Linked DNA regions of Homo sapiens: region 2 is linked to region 1. Evidence: promoter capture Hi-C in 16 types of primary human blood cells and fetal thymus (Javierre and others, 2016). All regions are on one chromosome and are shown on one strand. Each heading gives the region's core, a stretch centred on a gene start or on the middle of the fragment in contact. The rest is flanking DNA. Distances are from core to core; before and after follow the strand shown. Region 1 holds the start of KCND2 (potassium voltage-gated channel subfamily D member 2). Region 2 has its middle 640 kb from the start of LINC02476.

The links. The method cuts DNA at HindIII sites, captures the fragments that hold promoters and counts their contacts. A CHiCAGO score of 5 or more calls a contact.
Region 2: a fragment that was not itself captured here is called in contact with the fragment with the promoter of KCND2 in region 1 in 3 of 17 cell types (endothelial precursors, megakaryocytes and M2 macrophages); the score reaches 15.4 in endothelial precursors.

Annotation. Positions count from the first base shown.
Region 1 is chr7:120,270,387-120,275,958 of GRCh38, forward strand. It overlaps KCND2 (potassium voltage-gated channel subfamily D member 2), which reads left to right and starts at 2,789. Exons shown (of 6, transcript NM_012281.3): 1 at 2,789-5,361. The coding sequence starts at 4,247. RefSeq lists silencers at 1,876-1,975, 2,895-3,044 and an enhancer at 3,485-3,554. The HindIII fragment of the contact is 3,977 bases long and covers 2,615-5,572 here.
Region 2 is chr7:119,269,001-119,274,572 of GRCh38, forward strand. No RefSeq gene overlaps it. Among named protein-coding and RNA genes, the nearest start is that of LINC02476, 640 kb to the right of the region's middle. The HindIII fragment of the contact is 3,722 bases long and covers 624-4,345 here.

The sequences.
Region 1 (5,572 bases), core at 1,539-4,038:
TACAAAAGAGTCAAAAAGTTAAAAATTGAAGTTTTTAAAGTAAAAAAAGATAGTAAGCTAAGGTTAATTTATTATTGAAGGAAAAATAAGATTTTAAAAATAAATTTAGCATAGCCTAAATATACAGTGTTTATAAAGTCTACAGAAGTGTACAGTAATGTGCTATGCCTTCACATTCATTCACCACTTACTCACTGATCACCCAGAGAAACTTCCAGTTCTGTAAGCTCCATTCATAGGAAGTGCCAAATAAAGGTGTACCGTTCTTAAAAATATTTTATACTGTATTTTTACTGCAACTTTTCTGTGTATATATATGTTTAGAGGTTCAAATACTTGCCACTGTGTTACAAATTGCTTACAGTGTTCAGTACAGTAACATGATGGCAGGTTTGTAGTCTAGGAGCAATAGGCTGTACCATATAGCATAGGTGTGTAGTAGGCTATACCACCTAAGTTTGTGTAAGTACGCTCTATGATATTCAGACAGTGATGAAATCTCCTAAAGACACATTTCTCAGAATGTATCCCTGTCATTAAGCAATACATAACTATGGAAAGTATCTAAGGGAATTCCAAATACGGGCTGGATAAAATGAATTGCATTAGCATTATGCATTACAATAAAAAAGAACCAATATTGAGTACACTTCATGTGCTAAGTATTTCACTGGTGTTCAGAAGTATGATCCTGTTTCATCTTCACGACAGGCCTGAAAAGTTAAATTTCATTATCTATAATTTCTAATCATAGAAGTAATTTGCCAAATGAAACAAAGCCAGTAAGTAATTTCTTAAGCAAGATTTTGAATTTAGATGTGTTTAAGTTCTCAGCCCACATTCTTTCCACTATATCAAGAAGCTTGTTGAAGATGCAGGAGGGCAGATCCCAGTACCTTCTTAAAAACTGTACATATTATGTTCTTGCTTCTTTGGGGCTTTTGTGAGTTAAGCTCCTACTTTTACATTTGTAAGCATTCAGTTTCCCACACAGTTTTAAAGGCTCTATTTAGGTTCCTCGCCCCATCTTTACAGGAAAGCATGCCATTATTGGCATTGATTAAATATTCATGGCGCTCCACCCTCTGGATTCCATGCCCAGCACCTGTCATAGTGCCACCTTACTGTTTGGACTAACGAGGGGTTGGTTTTCTTATATTAATTGGTAGTAAGCCCCTCATTTCCATTTTCCAGGTAACATGCTTGTGTGTTTGTTTTCAGGTATGCAGGCTATATAGATTGGTTAACAAGCATCTTTCACTTAAACAAATAGATAAAGAGCAGGTGTCTTCAGTTCCTTGTCCTCAAACTTAAATGGTGCATTAGCTCTGACTTCATTACTACTGACACAGGATTCCTTAAATCTCTATTCTGTAAACAAATAAACAAACAAAAAATACCCTTTTATCTCTACAGAAAATCCTGTACATGATAAGGATATTTTAAATTCTCTGGTTATTTTCTATACTCATTTTTTAGTTTATATATTTTCTTTGACGTATCCCATTTCAAATTTTCAAGGTTGACACATCATGCCTGTAATCTCTAGGGCTTAAAAGTCAATTTCCGTAAAGTACAACACACAGTCCACTTATTTTACAAACCAAGGGCAGTCAAACCAAGCCATGAAAAGTAATTTTTAGGTAGAAATTAGGCTACTATTCTTCATCAATACAGATGAAGCCTCATTATTGCCAAAGATCTTAATTACTATGATGATGATGATTCAGTAATCTAGATTTAATTTTCAAAGGAATTTCAAAAGGAAACTCTCCACATCTCATCCCACAACTATCCAAATGCAGACTCAAGCCTAAGTAGTATATGTCACATAAACACAAAAAAGGTGGGTGGCAGCGAAGGGGTTTGGGGATGTTTATGTGATCTGACTCTCTGTTGGACCAGTTAATTTTGATCCTTCACCTTCCTAAAGCATCCAAACCTTAGGTGCAGATTTAACTTCTCGCCATCCACGCCATCTAGTGGCTTGTATGTGTTACGTTTGGTTTTAAGGATGATTCCTAATGACTCGGGGGCGGGGTACGCGAAAAACAAAAAGGTTGGTAGCGACAATTTTCCTGTGTCTCTCTACCTCAGTAACCCCTCATACGAACACCTTTAACTCTTTTAACTATTTTAAATATGCGCAGTGATGCGCAGAGAGGATGAAGGGGACGCAAACTTTCAGAGACGCACGCCCCTTGACGATGACATTTAGAAAAGGGCTCCACATCCCTGTTATTCGTAAAGGACGGGAAAAGGAGTTGTGTCAAGACCTCGATCGAGGAGAGTCTCTGATTTTTTGGCAAGTTGGACAGATGGCATATCAATCCCTGCAACGTTAACAATCTGGTTTTGAAAATAAATAAAAACAGAAAGAGGAAATGCACTTAAAAATTCCGCGTCGGAGCTTTGCGGGTCTTGCCTTCCAGTCGCCCCCAGAAGACAACCAATTCCTGCGCATTCCGCTCCGCTCACCCTCCTTCCCAGCTTCTCTCGCTCTCTTTCCCCCCATTTTCCCACGCTCGCCTTGAACCGGGACTCGAGAGGCAGAAGCAAGGCACGGGTCCCCTTTCTCCTCTCCTCCACCAAACCACCGCAGCCCAGCACGTGAAGCTTCCCTTTGTTCATCCGAGGCTCGCTTTTCTCCCCAGCAGATCCACCTGGATGCTCTCCCTCGGTGACATTTTGCGCCGGGGTTGGTGGGTGGCTGGGGTGGAGCGAGAGGAGCCCGAGGGGGCGGGGGCGGAGAAAGGTCAAGCCGAGGGAAAGGCAGGAGACGCCTTTCCTAACCTGCGTGGCGGGGCGTGCGCGCGGTTATTTATTTATTTTCTCCTTATTTATTGATCGCACTAGCAGAGCAGCGCGGGGAGCCCGGGGAGATGCAGGACCACCCACTGGCGGGGAAGCAGCTAGCAGCCCTCCCGCGCCCCCGCGCTGCCGAGCGCCTTCTGCCTCCGCGCTCGGACGAGAGCCCGTGCCGGCCCCGGCCCCGGCCCCACCGCGCCAACGCCGCCCGCCCGGCCGCCCCGCAGCCCCGCCGCCCCGCAGCCCCGCACCGCGCTGGCCAGGCTCCCGCGACAGTGGCCCCGCAGTAAGTTGGCAGGAGCGAGTCCCCTCCGTTCTCGCCTCCCCCGCACCTTTTGAACTTGTTGCTGCTGCTCTGCTCGCCTGCGCCTGGCTTTTGGAAGGTGAAAAGGAGGAGGGAGGCACGGAGGGATGGGGGAAGGGAAAGAAGAGCTCGCTTGAGCTTTATTTATGCTCTCTCGGCGCATCGGATTCGGCTGCTCGCGAGCTGCTTTCTCTCCTCTTCCCTTTCCGGGTGCACGGCGAGGAGAAAGTCTCTATGCAACTAAGCCCCGGCGCGCACTTGGCCAGGTATGTACCGCGGGAGCGGCGCGTTCTGCGCGGAAGCAGATGCTGCTGCCGCCACGGCGGCGGCGGCTGCCAGCTCCTGAGCTCTGTAACTGTCACACTGCACCTGAGCTGAACTTGAAAAGAGAGTGAAGGGGCGATTGGGCGAACGCTTTTGGCAGACACAGAGGGTGTTTGTAGACGTGGGGGAGGAGAATCTCTATTAACGCCCCCCACCGTAACCACTGCACATCACCTCCATCTCTGCAAATACAGCCCGAGGAGTAGAGGCAGCAGCAGCTGGACCCCCAAAGAGAGACGTGGGGCAGCGGCTGTGACCGCATCTCCTGAGCTACAACAACAGGTCGCCTTTTTGAGACTCCTTTGGCGGGAAGGGCTACTTGGAAAGGAAGGTTTGAAAGAGTGAGAAGGGTAGGTGTAAGGGTTCCCTAATTCGTCGAAAGAATTCTATTGGGTGACTCTCGTTCGTCTTCTCTATCCTACACTCCACATACTGACCCTATATTATCCAGACTGTGCCGGGGAGAAATCAAAAACACCTGTTTGAAGAAACGGCTGCACCTGTGTGCTTATTTGTGCCAGAGGGTGGCCTAGCCCACCTGCAGGAAGAGATTTGGCTGGGTTCTGTTGAGGGTGATTGTTAGGACGTTGTATTTTGTTGCCATTATTCCAAATACCTGTCTTGGAGGGAAAGTTGCCCTTCTGAGAACTGTGACTTTACCAGGAGCCCTATCTTGGAATAAGAGTTACACCTCTGGACCACGTTTCTCACTAGTACTTTGCTTGACTGGAGGAAGTGGGTGACTTTTGGCTGCTTCGGTGACCCATTGTAGACGCCTCGTTACCCTTCTTCCTTCCGCTTCAAGTAATCATGGCGGCGGGGGTGGCAGCGTGGCTGCCTTTTGCAAGGGCAGCGGCTATCGGGTGGATGCCTGTGGCCTCGGGGCCTATGCCGGCTCCCCCGAGGCAGGAGAGGAAAAGGACCCAAGATGCTCTCATTGTGCTGAATGTGAGTGGCACCCGCTTCCAGACGTGGCAGGACACCCTGGAACGTTACCCAGACACTCTACTGGGCAGTTCTGAGAGGGACTTTTTCTACCACCCAGAAACTCAGCAGTATTTCTTTGACCGTGACCCAGACATCTTCCGCCACATCCTGAATTTCTACCGCACTGGGAAGCTCCACTATCCTCGCCACGAGTGCATCTCTGCTTACGATGAAGAACTGGCCTTCTTTGGCCTCATCCCGGAAATCATCGGCGACTGCTGTTATGAGGAGTACAAGGATCGCAGGCGAGAGAACGCCGAGCGCCTGCAGGACGACGCGGATACCGACACCGCTGGGGAGAGCGCCTTGCCCACCATGACTGCAAGGCAGAGGGTCTGGAGGGCCTTCGAGAACCCCCACACCAGCACGATGGCCCTGGTGTTCTACTATGTCACGGGGTTTTTCATTGCCGTCTCTGTCATCGCGAATGTGGTGGAAACAGTGCCGTGCGGATCAAGCCCAGGTCACATTAAAGAACTGCCCTGTGGAGAGCGGTATGCTGTGGCCTTCTTCTGCTTGGACACGGCCTGCGTCATGATCTTCACAGTTGAGTATTTGCTTCGCCTGGCTGCAGCGCCTAGTCGTTACCGTTTTGTGCGTAGTGTCATGAGTATCATCGACGTGGTGGCCATCCTGCCTTATTACATTGGGCTGGTGATGACAGACAATGAGGACGTCAGCGGAGCCTTTGTCACACTCCGAGTCTTCCGGGTCTTCAGGATCTTTAAGTTTTCCCGCCACTCTCAAGGCCTGCGCATCCTGGGGTACACACTGAAGAGTTGTGCCTCAGAATTGGGCTTCTTGCTTTTCTCGCTCACCATGGCTATCATCATCTTCGCTACAGTTATGTTCTACGCAGAGAAGGGGTCTTCGGCTAGCAAGTTCACCAGCATCCCTGCAGCCTTCTGGTATACCATCGTCACCATGACAACACTAGGGTAGGTGCCATAATGGGAAATGGGATGGAGGTTGGGTATGGGTGAGGCGATTGTGGACCCATCGAGGTTACATGGTAACTCCGGGGAAATCATTTGTTTTCTTTCCTGAGTTTAGGAAAGCATTATCTAAATGGTTTGGCAAAACTCTTTTCATCTGTGAAATGGGTATAATACACACGTTGAAGTATTAAGGCATTGCTGGCAAATGTTG
Region 2 (5,572 bases), core at 1,235-3,734, 1.0 Mb before region 1:
CCATAAGGATCTCTTATAAGGCTGATCTTGTGGTAATGGATTGCCTTGGTGCTTGCTTATCTGGAAAAGATTTTATTTCTCCTTTGCTGATGAAGCTTAGTTTGGTGGGATGTTAAATTTTTGATTGCAATTTCTTTTCTTTAGAATGCTAATAAATGGTCCCTAGTCTTTTCTGGCTTCTAACGTTTCCGCTGTGAAGCCTGCTATTAGCCTGCCGTATGTGATCTGGTCTTTTTCTCTAGCTGCATTGAAAAATTTTTCTTGAATGTTGACCTTGGTGACTATATGCCTTGGTGATGTTTACTTTGTATAGTTTCTTGCAAGTGTTCTGTGGATTTTTTTCTATCTGGATGTCTATCTCTCTAGCAAGATTAGGGAAATTTTCATGAATTATCCCATCAATTATCTTGAATTCTTTCCTCAAATATCCAGTTTTCTTGGTTGTTTATTTTTTCCCTTCTCTCACAGGTATGCCAGTAATTTGTAGATTTAGCCACATTACATAATCCTATATTCCTCTAAGATTCTGTTGAATTTTTTGTTTATTTTTATCTGTGTTAGTTTGAAACTCTGGTGTTCAAGCTCTGAAGTTATTTCTTCTGCCTGATCCAATCTGTTGTTAAAGCTTTCAAGTGTGTTTTGAAATTTTTTAAGTTTCTCAATTTAAAAATCTCTGGTGATTTTAAGATTTTTATCTTTTTCTTCATTTTCTGGATTTCTTTAGAAGTTTCTTTGTGTTGATTTTCAAACTTTTCTTGGATCTCATTGAGCTTTTTTGCAATCTATGCTTTGAATTCTTTTCTGTTATTTATGAGTTTCCATGTTGGTTAGGGACCATTGCTGGATAACTAATGCCCTTCTTTGATGACGTTGTTGCATTTGGATTTTACATGGTGCCAGTATTATTGCACTGGTTCCTTCCTAAATATGTAATTATTATCATACTGGTAGAATCTTTTTTTACTTTTCCCCCTGTACTAATATCTCTGTATATATTTTTTCCCTTTCCCTTTCCATCCCTCCCTATGGGGTGTGACTGTAGAGAATGCTGAGTAGAATATTTTGGCTTTGCTTCTGCAGCCCTGTGCACTTCCGTCAGTAGGTTTTATATTGGGCTGTGCAGTTTGACCCATCAGCCAGCAGATGGCGCATATAGGTAAGAGCCGGCTTTGTCGCTGTAGATGGGTATATACTTTATTCTTGTTTACTGTGAGTAACCCTCTTTTGCCTCAAGCAATGGGCTGTTTCGTGGAATGCACAGTGGTCTGAGTTCCCTTCTCATCCTTAGGAGGGCAAGGCCCACGATGAGGGCCTAGACCTGGCAGGTCTGCCTACAAGTCCCCCGATGGCAGGCAAAATCACCAACACCAAGGGAGAATCCAAAGTAGCCACTAAGCCCCCAGAGGATTGTCTAAGAGTAGAGCTGGGAAGCCTTCTCAGCCCCAGGGTCTCTGCATAGGAATGGGGCAGCCTAAACTACTAATCTTTGAGATTGTTTCGGGTGCCTGGAGATCTTCCTGAGCGTCAAATGTTAAGTGGCCCTCTGCACCAAGATCTTTGCACAGGAGAGGTAGGCCACTCAGGCTGCTGGTCCAAGTGAACTAGTGCTCCGAATTCTTGGAGATCTGCCTGGGCATGAAGCAGAGAAGGCCTTCCTGCACCAAGATCTCTGCACGTGAAGGGTGGGTTAGCTCATCTTGCTGAACCAGGTGAACGTGTGTTCTGAATATCTGAAAACCTTCCTGGGTGTGGAGTGTAGAGAACTTCTCTGCACCAGGATCTCTGTACAGGAGAAATGTGGTGACTCAGGTTGCTGAACCAGGCAAGTAGGTTCTCTGAATGCCTGGAGATCTGCCTAGGTGTGGAGTGGAGAGAGCCCCACTACACAACGATCTATGCCCAGGAAGGGTGGGGCATCTCAGGCTGCTGAGCCAGGCAAACATTTGCTCTGAATGCCTGGGTGTGGACGGGCGAGGTCCTGACTGTCCCACAGTCTGTTTCCACGAGAAGTAGGGCATCTCAGACTGCTGATCCAGGCAAGAAGTTACTCCAAGTGCCTGGATTTCTGCTTGCAGGTGGACTAGAGAGGGCCCTGCTGCATCATTGTCTCAGGAGAGCAGGCTGGGGTGCCCTGCAGTGGCACACACAGACTGGTTGCAGGTTGCCTACCTGACGCTGGCTACAAGTGTCATTGCCCAGGAGAAACTACCACTGTAGCAGCTCTCCTGCCTCAGGCCTGTGACAGGGGAGAGCACAATTTCAGCACTTACATTTCCCGATGCGCTTTCCACAGGTCTGGCTGTGTAAGTCCCTACCCTGCTCCAGATTAGCACTCCAATCTCTGGCCCAAGACTGAAATGACTGAGCAGCCATGCTGCCGAGTCACCAAGAGATGTGTAATTGTGTATGTGCCTGAATTAAAAATGGTGTACTGCTCTTGATCCTGCGTCTGAGAAAATGTCTGCAGCTCTTCCAGGTGCCTTTTCCTCACAGTGTCTCCAAGCCTCTCTGCAAGTTAGCTCCAGGGCTTGAAAGAAACAACATGCTCTCCCTTGGCCTGAGTTGCTTGGATCCCCACTGGAAAAGTGAGTCACAGCCGGAGGGTCTCTGCCTGTCTCCTGGGCTTTACTCACTCGGCCAGACACTTACGGAGGCTGTTTACCCATGTTCTTCTCCCCATGACCTGGGGTTTCCTTCAAAAATCTAGTGGATTCCCATTTTCCTTTTTGACTTAAAGCTCACAAAGTTTATCTTTATGGACTATCACGCTATTTCCAATTAGCTGAGACATGCTAAAAGCCTCAAATCTATCATCTTGAAGGAAAACTACAATTTTAATAGTACTATTTATTATGAAAGAAAGAGACAAAGAAAGGTAGCAGTACAGTGTAGTAAAATAAAAATAATCTTTGAAATTTCAGATGTGGATTTGAATGTGAAATTAGACGTTTCTGAACACATCAACTTGAGAGGTTGTTGTATATTTATTCCACTTGTTCTACTACAAATGGGGGTATATTATATTATTAAGAGTGCCATAACATAATAGCACAGCCTGGGTAGCTTAAACAACTGAAATTTATTTTCTCATAAATCTGGAGGCTAAAAATCCAAGATTAAGGTGTCAGCAGGTTTAGTTTTCTCTGAGGCCTCCCTCTTTGACTTTTATATTGCCAACCTTTCCTTTTTTCCCCATATGGTTTATTTGTCTCTGTTGTCTGTGTCCTAATACCCTCTGCATAAGAAAAGGACACAAGTCATATTGGATTAGGGCCCGTGCTAATGACCCCATTTTAACTTAGTTACCTCTTCAAAGACCCTATCTCCAAATACAGCCACATCATTATATATTGGGCATTAGGGCTTCAACATTTGAATTTGGGAAACAATGCAACCCATACCTGAGAAAATGACATTTATCTCATATGATTTTTGTGATGAACACAGAATAGTGTGTTTATTCATTCCTAGTGTTGGAACGTTGTGTTATTTATAGCTTTGGGGATATGATCTATAAAGCAGTTAACAATATTTTTCGTACATATTTGGGTGGATTTGTGTTTTCATTTGTCTTGGATAACTTCCAATAAGCAAAAATGCCAGGTAGCATATTAAATTCATATTTAAATTAAGATACTGCTAAAGTGTTTCCAAAGTGTCTGTACCAGTTTGTATTCCCATCAGCAGCATTTGGAAGTTTAATTTGGTCTACTTCTTTGCCAGTACTTGATACCATTTTTTTTTAATGCTAGCCATTGTAGTGAATATGTAGTGACATATAATTTTGATTTTTGAATTTGCAATTATATGATAACTAGTGATGTTGGCTTTTTTTCATGTGATTATTGGCCATTTGCATAGCTTCTTTGGAAAAATGGTCAAATCTTTTGGGTTTTTTGGTGTGTGTTAATTGGGTTGTTTGTCTTTTATTATTAAATAATATTAGTTCCTTAGATGTCTGTATACAAGTCAATTAAAAGATACATGTTTGTGAAAAAGTTTCTCCCACTCTGCAGCTGGTCAATTTGTTTGGTTTTTGTAAATATGCCTTTTGAAGGACGAAAGATTATAAACCTAAGGTCTATTTTACCTTTTTTTTCTCTCTATACATAGGATTTATGTTGCCTAGTTTTAAAGTAAAAATAACTTTGCTTCACCAAATATCACAAATATTTATTCCTATTTTCTCCTGGAATTTTGATAGTTTTAGTTTTTACATTTAGGTAAAAGAAACTTTGAGTTAGATTTTTGTATATGGTTTGAAGAGACTCATTGTTGATTATTTTCTATTCAGTTATTCCATACAATTTATAGAAAACCTCTTTTCTGATTGAATTACTTAGAAAGCTTTATACATTTTTCCATCTATTTCTCCTACGTATATTATAAACATCATAAGATAGTGTTACTTTTTTTTAACAGCATATGCTTATCAGGAACTAAGATATTATTAATAGAGAAGAAAGTCAAACATATTATTTTCCATTTACTCAGATATTTTTTATTGTAAAACTCTTCTTTCTTTTCTGAGGAGTGGTTTCCATTTCACACATTTTTTTCTTCTTTTCTTAGATGCCTTCCTGCATTGTTTCCTACAGTTCAGGTCTGATGAAAATTGATTCTCTTACTTTTATCTGAAAATATCTATAAGAAATCCTCTTTCTTGAATGATATTTTAGGTGAATATAGGATTCTTTAATTACAGATTTTTTTTTTAAAAAAAAAAGAAAGCTGGAGATGTTCCACTCTCTTCCCTTCTTCATGAATTTTGATGAAAAGTTAGCAATTAAGCAGATTGTTGTTCCTGTATATCTAACATGTCATTTTTCATTTGTCACTTTCAATATTTGTTCTTTATCTCTGGCATTCAGCAGTCTGAATATGATGTTCCTGAGCTTGCGCTTCCTTCTGTTTATTATGGTTGGTATTTGCTCAATATCTTGGATTTAGAAATTTCCATATCTTGCCAAATTTGGAAAACATGTAGAGAATAGTATCTTCACCTTGTTTTTGCTCCATTTTTTAAAACTGTTTTCTTTGTGATACCCTAATTATGCAATGTCCAAGGACCATTTGCTATAATCTAACAGGTCTTTATTTTTTATATTTTTCCTGTTTGCTATTTACTTGGATCCTTAATATTAATCTATCTTCAATATACTTTCTCTTTATTCTGCCATTTTATTTGGCTATAAAATTTCATCTTTTTCCCCAGAAACTGCATTGCCCAGTTCTAGATTTTCCATTTTCATTGTTTCTAACTCTCAGCTCAAATCTATTTATCTGTTGAGATTTTTATTAATCATGCTTTATTTTCATGTATTACACATAGTTATAACAGATTCTTTTAAATCCTTGCAATTTAGTTGAAATATGTTGTTCATCACATGTTCTTGGCTGAGTTTGATGTTATCCTCTCTGGCCCTTTCCCTTCCAGGGTTCCTCCACTCTTTTCAGTGTTCATAGTATACAATCCTTTCTTTCCCCATGCAAGGATGATTATTTCCACAAGTGTCTCCAACACATTTTTGCATGCATCGTGAACTGCTAGCTACAGGCTAAAATCTTAAAT